Regions from separate parts of the Homo sapiens genome. Here all the other regions are linked to region 1. Evidence: promoter capture Hi-C in 16 types of primary human blood cells and fetal thymus (Javierre and others, 2016). All regions are on one chromosome and are shown on one strand. The core of a region is centred on a gene start or on the middle of the fragment in contact, and the rest is flanking DNA. Distances in the headings are between cores, read along the strand shown.

Region 1 (3,583 bases), core at 990-3,489:
ACCACAGTATTAGTTGTTGAATTACGCTCAATATATATAAAATATTTAAGTAAAATAAAATGCTCATGGAAATAAAACTCTTAAAGTATTTATCACCTATATATGTAGCATATTCTAGGCCACTGGCTCTAAACGTTTTCAATCACACATCCTACATTCGTAAAATACATTTGTGCATTCATCCTCAATATATTTATTTCTATACATGCATTACTATTCTAATATACTACTCTAGCATAAAATTCACAAAAAACAGAAATTTTTAAGAATGAAAGTTTTAAAAGGTAAACAAATAGAAGTTCTAATATTTTCTTACCACATCTGACTGGATCACCTTGTGCCCCACCACGCACACATACAAAGGCGCTACTTATGAGACCATTAATCCAAGCAACCACATTGTAACTGTTCAGCATAAATTTTAGCCAAATAAAATACAGCACCAACAACTCAGATATCACTTGTTCCTTTTTCTTCAATAGTACTGACTTCCGGCTTCAGATTTAACACTGCATCCATCCTCACTGCAGTTGCTTTAAAGGGGACAATAAACCAAGGGAAATTATCTCTAAAGGGGCCCCATCCAATGGGATTGTTTCGTTCACTGAAAAATAAATTTAAAGGCTGCACTTCAAAGGCTGAGGTCTCATAAAAATTAAATATTTTTATTTAGAAATGTTATTCCAGCACTTTAAAGTTACAGAATAGAGGAATTTTTTTCATTCATAAGCTTTCAACGGCTCTTAGAAAAACCATGTTTAAGTTGGGCAAATAACTGGAATCTGAACTTATGATTTTCTTTAATATCAATCGACATTATTTCTTATGCCAGTAAAGCCTTCATTTCCATGGGGCTGGGCGCCTCATTAGTGAAAGTAAAAGACTGCACAAAGCGGGGGAAGTGCCAACTAGAGAGCCCTCACAACCAAACAAGCAGTACTTAGGTCGGAGGGAGAGAGTTGCTCCTGACCTACCAAGAAAACCACTTTTGTACAGAATATGAGTCATCATTATTGGGTGTTGTAATTGAGAGATAAATCATTAGTGTTTTTGTCTTTTTTAAAAAACATGTCTAAAAAGCTCAAAAGTAAATGCCAGTGTCATATTCTTTTGTTTGTTTTTTGAGACAGAGTCTCGCTCTGTCGCCCGGGCTGGAGTGCAATGGCGCTCTCGGCTCACTGCAAGCTCCGCCGCCCGGGTTCACACCGTTCTCCTGCTTCAGCCTCCCGAGTCGCTGGGACTACAGGCGCCCACCACCATGCCAGGCTAATTTTTCCTTTTTTTGTATTTTTGGTATTTTTTTTGTATTTATTATTTTGTATTTTATTTTGTATTTTTTGTATTTTTGGTAGAGACGAGGTTTCACCGTGTTAGCCAGGATGGTCTCGATCTCCTGACCTCGTGATCCGCCCGCCTCCGCCTCCCAAAGTGCTGGGATTACAGGCGTGAGCCACCGCGCCCGCCGCCAATGTCATATTCTTTAGACATATCACTGTCATTTCACAGCTTTCAAATACTTCCATCTCCTATGTATTATCGATGAAAACCTAAGTTTTCATCTTAGAACGGAGCTGCCCGACTATTAGAAGCGTGGAACCCAGGCTTGCCTTGTCGTCGGGAATGAGCACTAGAGGCACCTGCACGCAGGTGGAGGAGGGAGGCTGGCGGATGGAGAGGGCGAGGCTAGGAGGCCCTCGGGATGGAACCTGTCTCTTCTTTGGACACTGTGGAATTTCCATAAGCTGCTGGACACAGCTGATGGGTACCAGGTATGAGTGGCAACGTTTGGCAATTCCATTAACTGAAAAGAACTACCGAGAAACGGTGAGGCGGGGCGGCGAAGATGAGACCAGCTGCCCATCACTCCAGAGGACCTGCTGAAAGAATCTGAACTCACCACGCCTTCGCGTCCGCAAGGGAAAGGTCCGGCTGCCACGCCCCCGCGACCGCTGTCGCCCTGGGGAAAACACGAGAAACACCCGGCACCGCCAGGTTCCAGAGACCTTCGCAAAGTAAGGGGTAAATAAAAACCGTGGCCCCAGGAACTAGTAGTTCCCAAAGGGACCAAAACCGAGGCTCCCCCAACCTAGCCCGTGTTCACTCCAACTTACCCATTAATGTGGCACTCTCCGATGCCCTGATTTCCCAGTCCCCAGCGGCGACGTGTGTGGCGGGTAACAGAAGGGCCGCCACTCCGCCCCTGGCGTGAAGCGTAGCGACCCAGTTCGCAATCCAAGATGGCGGCCACCTGCGCCCCTTCTCCGAGACCCCGAGGCTCGGCTCCCAGAAGCCCTTGCACTCGACGCGGCGGCGGCGGCGGCGGCGGCGGCGGCGGCGGAGGAGGAGTGGTGGCCGCACATCCTAGCAGTGGGGCGTAGAGAAAGTGCGCGCCGCCGTCCCACCCACCGAAGGAGGAGCCTGTGCCTGCGACAAGCCCTGGATTTTAGTTGCGCTTGCGGTGGCCATGCTGTAGGTACTCTGCGGCCCGTAGACCTCCGTGTGTGCAAAGGGACGACCCCTCATTCATTCATTCTTCACGCGTGCGTGCATGCATACATTCTTAAGGATATAAACTGTGTCAAGTACCATTTTAGATACATTATTGGGGCTACAACAGTGCAAAAAAGTTGGTAAAAATCGCAGCCTTGTTAAGTGTACGGAGAAGCTCACGTTTTCTTCAGCTTCATTAACTTTTATATGCTCTGCTCGTTTTATTTCAAGCTTTTTGTCATTTATAATTTTATATTCTATAACATCTGCGGTTTTTTGTTTTTGTTTTTCTGTTTTTGGGGGGTTTTTTTTGAGACGGAGTCTGGCGCTGTCACCAGGCTGGAGTGCAGTGATGCGATCTCGGCTCACTGCAACCTCCGCCTCCCAGGTTCAAGCGATTCTCCTGCCTCAGCCTCCCAAGTAGCTGGGACTACAGGCATGCGCCACCACGCCCAGCTAATTTTTGTATTTTTAGTAGAGACCAGGTTTCACCGTGTTGGCCAGGATGGTCTTGATCTCTTGACCTCCTGATCCGCCCGCCTCAGCCTCCCAAAGTGTTGGGATTACAGGCATGAGCCACCACACCCAGCCACATGAGTGTATTTTTGACAGCAATGTAGTCACCAATAAACGAGTAACTTCAGTTAAAGTACTGTAGATTATAATACACAGCCCTGTAATCTACCCTGGAGTTCAACAAACGGTATTGAAAACAGACTGTGTTCCAGATGCAATAGGAAGAGAATAAATAAGATAAACAATACATAAATCCTGCCCAGAAGACGTTTGCAATTTTTTAAGAGGAAAAACATGAAGACAAATTGTTTTAAGATGTTTGCTATTTTCAATAGTTGAAAAATAAACAGGAGAGAAGGGATTATTTAACTGTGGGTATGTAGGGCTGAGAAAGGCACGCTTGACAAAGGAAACCTGGGCAGTGTTACCAGAAAGCGTTGCCAATCATGAGTCCATATAGTGAAGTGAAAGCAAGTTTATTAAAGAAGTAAAGAAACAAAAGAATGGCTACTCCATAGGCAGAGCAGTGGCTTGGGCTGCTGGACTGAGTATATAGTTTTTTTGTGTGTTGTTTGTT
Region 2 (3,428 bases), core at 21-2,520, about 17 Mb after region 1:
GTGACCTTTTCTTCTCTTTCCAACCCCCATAAATAATTGCCCAAGAGTAGGAAAAAAGGATTTTTTTTTCTTAAGGATATGGGCTTTTTGCATAGCCTGTTTAAAAACAAAGCTTTCTAAACAACTTAGTTGCACATCCTACTTTAGAGAAAAGACAAGTGTTAAGTGATGGTGACTTGAAAACTGTAAAGTTTATTGTTTGGAAAACCGCATGAGAAAAATGGCCAGAACATATTTGTGCTAAAAAGAGTTAACATAGCAGGCCTTAAGACTGCTATCCTTAGAAAGGACTGCTTGCAATGTTGGTGCTTGTTTGGCATCTGGGAACTTAGATTTTTGGGTTTGTGCTGAACAGTATGTTTTATGCCGAAATTACCAGCTTCTGTAAAAATCCGGGACACCAAGTCTTTAATGGGCTTCCCTGCGCGGAAACTGCTGCATTTTCACTGATGGAGGAAGGATGTGTTTTGTTTGACCCCTCTTGGGAGGGAGACCGCATAAGGAGCCTACACGTGATTCCTCCAGACTCCGCTTGTGTCTTTTTCTATTATGATGAGCCTTTATATCCATACTGCATTGTGTAATAAATGTCAGCCATGAATTCAACTATATGTTGAGTCCCGTGCATCCTATCAAAGCTCTAAATGTGGGGGAGATCACGGAGATCCTCAGCCACAGTTTTGTAAATTTGTATAAAGGTAAGGGATATAAGTGCCGTTTTTTTACGAGGATATATTTCCTAGTGGTACTGGGCTTTTAGTGTAACCATCACCTGAATAATGTACATTGTGTCCATTAAGCAATTTCTCATTCCTCACCCCACTCCCATCCTTCCCAGTCTCCAGTGCCCAGACACAATTTTGATGATAAAAAGTATTGGAAGCTCTAATAATTGGACTTTTAATTTTGCCCTTTTGCCTCAAATGGAAATTGGAAAACTACAGATAAATAATTGCCGAATTCTGGGTTACTGTACCAAATGATTCTGTCTGTTTAGACATTACATATGGCAGAAAAATCATCAGAAATTGCCTCTACATTACCAAGTTAATTTTGAGTCAGTGTTTTTGAAAAAAGGCACAGGTTGCTTACAGTATGTAGGTCAAATGCCTGGTTTTGTTTATTATTTTGCTAGCATTATCTGTGTTAATGCTCATCTTTATCAAGAGCTTATCTGTACCACAGCGAGAAAATATAATCAGTTTCTCATAGGCCATTTTCCCTGTACTTTATTAGTTATACCTATCTCTTTTCAGGACATCAAATTTAAATTGATGGAGGTAGGTTTGCAAATTTGGGGTTAGAAAGATCAAATTTGCCGTCTGCTTATGTCTCTTTTCCCTTATAAAAGACTAGATCAGTTTTTGGTAAGTTAGTTGGGAGTTGGAGGGGTTAGAGGTTTGAGGAAAGTGAAGAAGATTTGAAATGGCTCTGTGGATAGTATGTAAGTTGACCAGAAGGTGAAGTGAATAATAATGGACCTAGTCTGCTTTCTTAAGAGACTTTCTCCCGACATGGAGAAAATGGTTAATTGGGTTCATCTAGGATTGGGTTCTGCGAGAGAGGTGATGTAGTCCTTAAGGCTCTGCACAAGTATTCCGGTTCACCTATTTTTGGGTACATGTAATGCTGCACTCTTTGTACATGGGCAACCCCTCTCCATGTCTGCTTGAAGTTAAATGTGCCATGTGACTTGCTTTAGGAAGCAGCTCTCCATTTGCCATTTCCACTTCTCCCTGCCCTGCTGTAAGGGTCATGGAAGGACTTGTTGAGATGCAGCCTCTTGTCAGCCTGGACACTATAGGAAAATATGAGTGGCTGATCAGGCAAGTTGGAAGAACTGGGAAGTTGCTGTCAGAGAAGGGGATACTTAAATTAGTGATTTTATAAGGTGGAACTGTAGGGGAGAGTAGATGAGGAAGTTTGGAGGGAGAAGGTAGAGATGAAGTGCTCAAGGAACTCAGAGGCTTTTTACATGTTCCTAACCCGGAAGCCCTTAATTTATTGCAACTTAGTTCAGTAGTGATGACCGTTGGACTTAATGGTAAACTTGAAAGCTCCCTTATTGTGAATTATGGAATGAATAAATCAAGATTTGGAATTTAGTACTGAATTGAAAGATTCATTACCTTGATCATTGAGAAGTAAGTCAGCAACCATGAAAATTGCGATGTTGCTTAGCCACCAGGCAGGAGAGTAAAAGGTAGGCCAAGCTACTCTAACAGAGACTCCAAAATATAGTAGTTTTAAAAAATGCTTAGCTTGTATCTAAAATCTTTGATAATTAACTGAATTTTTAATAAATATAAGGGATAGAGGTAAATAACACTATGAAGAAAGAGACAAATTCAGTGTGAGACATTATATAACTTTGCTGTCGAAAGAGTATTCTATGGGCCCCCAGCAGTGGCTTCAGTTAGAAGCTTTTTAGGTAGGTAGAATCTCAGGTCTTGTGCCAGACTTGTTGCATCAGAACTTTCATTTTAACAAGACCCTCAAGGTGACTCATGCACTGGCCTGATCTCTTTAAAAAGCTAAAGTCTTAGGCAAGTAACAGGTTGGAAGAACTGTTCTGTTAATAGATTAAAAGATACTAAAGAGACATAACCAATATCAAGTGCAAACCTTGATTGAATCTTTTTCAAAAAACCAGCTATAGAAGACAATTTAGGGTCAACTAAGGAAATTAGAATATGATGGAATATGAGATGATATTAGAAAATTATTAATTTTCTTAGATATGATTACATTGTTATATAGGAGAATGTGCTTATTTTTAAGAGATACATGCTGAAGTATTTAGGGATGAACTGTCAAGATCTCTACAACTTTCAAATAGTTCAACTATGTGTATATATATATATATATATATATATATATATATATATATATACACACACTCACATACATATATGTGTCTCTCTATACACACATATTGATATTTAGATAAAAACAAACATAGCTAATTGTTAATAGGTGTGGAATTGGTGGGGCACCATGGCTCATACCTGTAATCCCAGCAGTTTGGGAAGCCAAGGCATGTGGATTGCTTGAGCCCAGGAGTTCGAGACCAGCCTGGGCAACATGGGGAAATCCCATCTCTACTAAGAAATACAAAAAAATTATCTGGGCATTGTGGTGTGCACCTGTAGTCCTAGCTACTTGGGAGGCTGAGGTGGGCGTATCACCTGAGCCTGGGGAGGTTGAGGCTGCAGTGAGCTGAAATCAGGCCACTGCACTCCAGCCTGGGCCATCAGAGTGAGACTTTGTCTCAAAAAATAATAATAGCCGGGCACGGTGGCTCACGCCTGTAATCCCAGCACTTTGGGAGACTGAGGTGGGCGGATCACGAGGTCAGGAGATCGAGACCATTCTGACTAACACAGTGAAACCCTATCTCTACTAAAAATGCAAAAAAAATTAGCCAA
Region 3 (3,609 bases), core at 730-3,229, about 17 Mb after region 1:
GGCTTTGCATTTTAATATTTTTGAAGATGTCACACTATTAGTAGCTATAATAATTAGAAATACTGTATAAAATGCTCTTTTTTAGATGTTGCTGACAAAAATGCTTCTAACAGAAATTCTGCTGGATGTCACAGATGAAGAAATTTATTACGTAGCCAAAGATGCACACCGCAAAGCAACGAAAGGTATATTTTGGTGTTTCTGGTTTTGCTTTTCCTGGGGTATTTTGGTTCTGATGACTATTTTGGCCTTTTTTTGTTGTCCTTGTTGGATTTCTACCAGATATTTGAATATTCTCTTGCATGTTTTAACTCTTAAAGATTAGATTCGTAGACACCATATTAAAGCTATACAAATATTTTTGTTTTATCTGACCTACATGAGTACAAATTAGCAATCATGCTGTTTTCCTCTAAAATGTATTGTGGAAAATTCCAGGTGTTCAGTTTATTTCACCTGATTTTTTTTAATAGATAACATGGCATTGTTGTGTGACTTCTGATACAGTTTATTTTGACTAATGAATTTTGAATTATCTACCTACAATTTTTAGTTTACCACTTATCTCTTACAGAAGCAAGTGATTTCCTACCCCTAGATTTTTAGTAACACCTTAAAAATGTATTGAAAACAAAAATTAAGTTACATGTCATAATCTCAGAAGTAGACATACAGATATACCTGTCAACATTTTTTCTCATTATAAACCAATTTCAGCTCACATCAGAGTTATAATTTCAAAGCCAGACATGATACTGGTTTAAAATGAATGTTATGTTTTTAATGTTTCTTCTCTCCCCAAAAAGCAGCAATAGTAGTAGATTTAACAATACCATAGACTCATGACTATGAAATCGTGGCTATTTGTGTTAACATGTTGTTCCTGTTGTTGATGTGATACAAAGCTCCTGCAAAACAGCTGGCACAGTCCAGTGCACTGGCTTCCCTCACTGGACTCGGTAAGTGTTTTCCATATTTGTGAGAGGGCCTAAAGGGAAAAATCACACATACATTGTCTCTCTGCGTGTTCTATTTTGAAACTGTATTAGTCCTACTCAGTTTATAAAAACCTAGGTCTTAGGGTTATGTCATCCTGTCTAAAAAGGTTTGCCTATTTTTTTGACTAACGCATTCACAGTGAGAAATTTATAAATGTGATGGTTAATTCATAGTTTATTGGGGCAGGTTATATTGGAAGATTTCCTTATTGCTCCAATATATGCATTTTATATATATATAATTATATATGAACACCTATAGTTTGTACTTAATAATTCATAATTTAGCCATGATAGTATCTAAGCTCACTTTCAGAATTATTGCATACATGCCTTAGGGAAGAACCTATCCACTAATGCTTTTAATAACTTACATAGATTGTGTTGCGGCAAGTCAAGTTTTAATATAGAGGAAAGGGTTTATCTTATCATAGTAAAATAGTAGTGATGTGTTCATAATTTACTATTTGCATGGTATATTATCAAGGCTGTAAAAGCTTGAATTTGCCTTTTCCACATCTTCATTTCAAATTAATTTTTGTGAGGACCCAGAGAAGTGGGTAGAACCAAATGCCCATGTGGTTTTGTTATGGTTATTTAGATCATTTCAGGGTGGGGAGTATTTTCAGCACCATAATATTTCTGTACCAGGGAGATTATAGTATTCTAATTTTTTTAGGGAAAAATTGCTTAGCTCTAGGGATTTCTAAACTTTGAACAATAAAAGTTAATTTTAGAAATACTTTCAGGGTCATCATTAAGCTTTAGCGTGGCTTTGTTACTGCCCTGTTAAGTAGTTTTGTTGGTTAGTATGGACAGTACAGCAAACCCATTATCATTCCTTTACAGTGAGAAAAATATGAAATAGTCCAGAAAGAATAAGATATTAAGTAACCTTTGCCTGAAGGTTCTGTGAACTCCTTAAGCGTTTGAATGTATACTTCTCCCCACCCCGAATAAGCGTATTCTTCTGGGAAAAGGCAATGAAAAAAGAAATGAACTTTCTTCTCAGACCTTGAAAAGTTTTTAGTGCATAGTATAATTTTTTTCATATGATAGACTGAGCTTTATGCACACAGGTGGACTGGGTGGTTATGGATCAGGAGACAGTGAAGATGAGAGGAGTGACAGAGGATCTGAGTCATCTGACACTGATGATGAAGAATTACGGCATCGAATCCGGCAAAAACAGGAAGCTTTTTGGAGAAAAGAAAAAGAACAGCAGCTATTACATGATAAACAGATGGAAGGTGTAGTATACCTTTTAGACTTAATTTTGGTCCAGTTTTGTATTTCTTTTTATTTTTTAACTAACCTAAAAATATCAAAGGATAAAATAAAGGCTATATTATAAATAATATGTGATATAACTGAAACTAAAGTCACAATTTTTGTTTGGTTGTTTTAGGAGCCATTTATTGCAGTGGCTATAAGCCAAGCTATTTAGGGTATTTTTATTTCTTGCTAAAAGTCTTGAAATGAAAAAGATGACTTTTGAAATGGGAAAAATATATTTGTAAGACTATTGAAAAGTAATTTGTAGCTAGGATATATAAGGATAATAGAGAACCTAGAAGTTTTTTACTTAAGATACTTTACCTAATACTAGGAATAACAAAAGAGAAAATTTACTTAGAATTTCTTCTTTGAAAAATCTAAGGTAATTAAGAGTTAGCAGCTAAGACTTCTCTATAAACCACTTACTTACCTTTAAAATTTTGCTTTAGTTGGACAAAAGGGAAGTCTTTTCCTACTTGCCTCACACCCACCTCTACATCTTGATACTGTATTTTGCTACACTGTCCAGGAGGGTAACGTAACTAACTACAAGCTATAGAGAACTTGAAATGTGGCTAGGCATGTGCTGTGGGTATAAATTACATGCTAGATTTCAAAAACTTTACTTGAAAAAGAGAACAGAATTTTTTTAAATTTATTATGTGTTGAAATGATAATATTTTTGGTATATTGGGTTATTTTACCTGTTTCTTTTTACTTTTTTAATGTGGTTACTAAAAAATTTTGAATTACTTACATGGCTTGCATCGTAATTCTATTGAAAATGGTGTTCTATTGTTACAGTCTGGTAGCTTGACATTTGGTAGTATGAGAATTTTACATGAACATTTTCTTAGTGTTTTTGTCTTTTTCTGTTTCAGAAGAAAAGCAGCAAACAGAAAGGGTTACAAAAGAGATGAATGAATTTATCCATAAAGAGCAAAATAGTTTATCACTACTAGAAGCAAGAGAAGCAGACGGTGATGTGGTTAATGAAAAGAAGAGAACTCCAAATGAAACCACATCAGTTTTAGAACCAAAAAAAGAGCATAAAGAAAAAGAAAAACAAGGAAGGAGTAGGTCGGGAAGTTCTAGTAGTGGTAGTTCCAGTAGCAATAGCAGAACTAGTAGTACTAGTAGTACTGTCTCTAGCTCTTCATACAGTTCTAGCTCAGGTAGTAGTCGTACTTCTTCTCGGTCTTCTTCTCCTAAAAGGAAAAAGAGACACAGTAGGAGTAGATCTCCAACAATCAAAGCTAGACGTAGCAGGAGTAGAAGCTATTCTCGCAGAATTAAAATAGAGAGCAATAGGGCTAGGGTAAAGATTAGAGAT

What was found. The method cuts DNA at HindIII sites, captures the fragments that hold promoters and counts their contacts. A CHiCAGO score of 5 or more calls a contact.
Region 2: a contact is called between a fragment that was not itself captured here and the fragment with the promoter of KPNA5 in region 1, in 2 of 17 cell types (total B cells and M0 macrophages). The highest score is 7.0, in total B cells.
Region 3: a contact is called between a fragment that was not itself captured here and the fragment with the promoter of KPNA5 in region 1, in 1 of 17 cell types (non-activated CD4 T cells). The highest score is 7.5, in non-activated CD4 T cells.

Annotation. Positions count from the first base shown.
Region 1 is chr6:116,679,867-116,683,449 of GRCh38, reverse strand. It overlaps KPNA5 (karyopherin subunit alpha 5), which reads right to left and starts at 2,239. Exons shown (of 14, transcript NM_001366306.2): 1 at 2,112-2,239. The coding sequence starts at 2,115. RefSeq lists enhancers at 677-1,658, 1,659-2,642. The HindIII fragment of the contact is 1,991 bases long and covers 733-2,723 here.
Region 2 is chr6:99,511,311-99,514,738 of GRCh38, reverse strand. All of the region lies in intron 1 of USP45 (ubiquitin specific peptidase 45), which reads left to right. Among named protein-coding and RNA genes, the nearest start is that of USP45, 2.4 kb to the left of the region's middle. RefSeq lists an enhancer at 1-308. The HindIII fragment of the contact is 2,311 bases long and covers 115-2,425 here.
Region 3 is chr6:99,401,179-99,404,787 of GRCh38, reverse strand. PNISR (PNN interacting serine and arginine rich protein) reads left to right here. Exons shown (of 12, transcript NM_032870.4): 9 at 86-185; 10 at 906-959; 11 at 2,078-2,248; 12 at 3,158-3,609. Among named protein-coding and RNA genes, the nearest start is that of COQ3, 8.8 kb to the right of the region's middle. RefSeq lists an enhancer at 1,594-2,793. The HindIII fragment of the contact is 434 bases long and covers 1,763-2,196 here.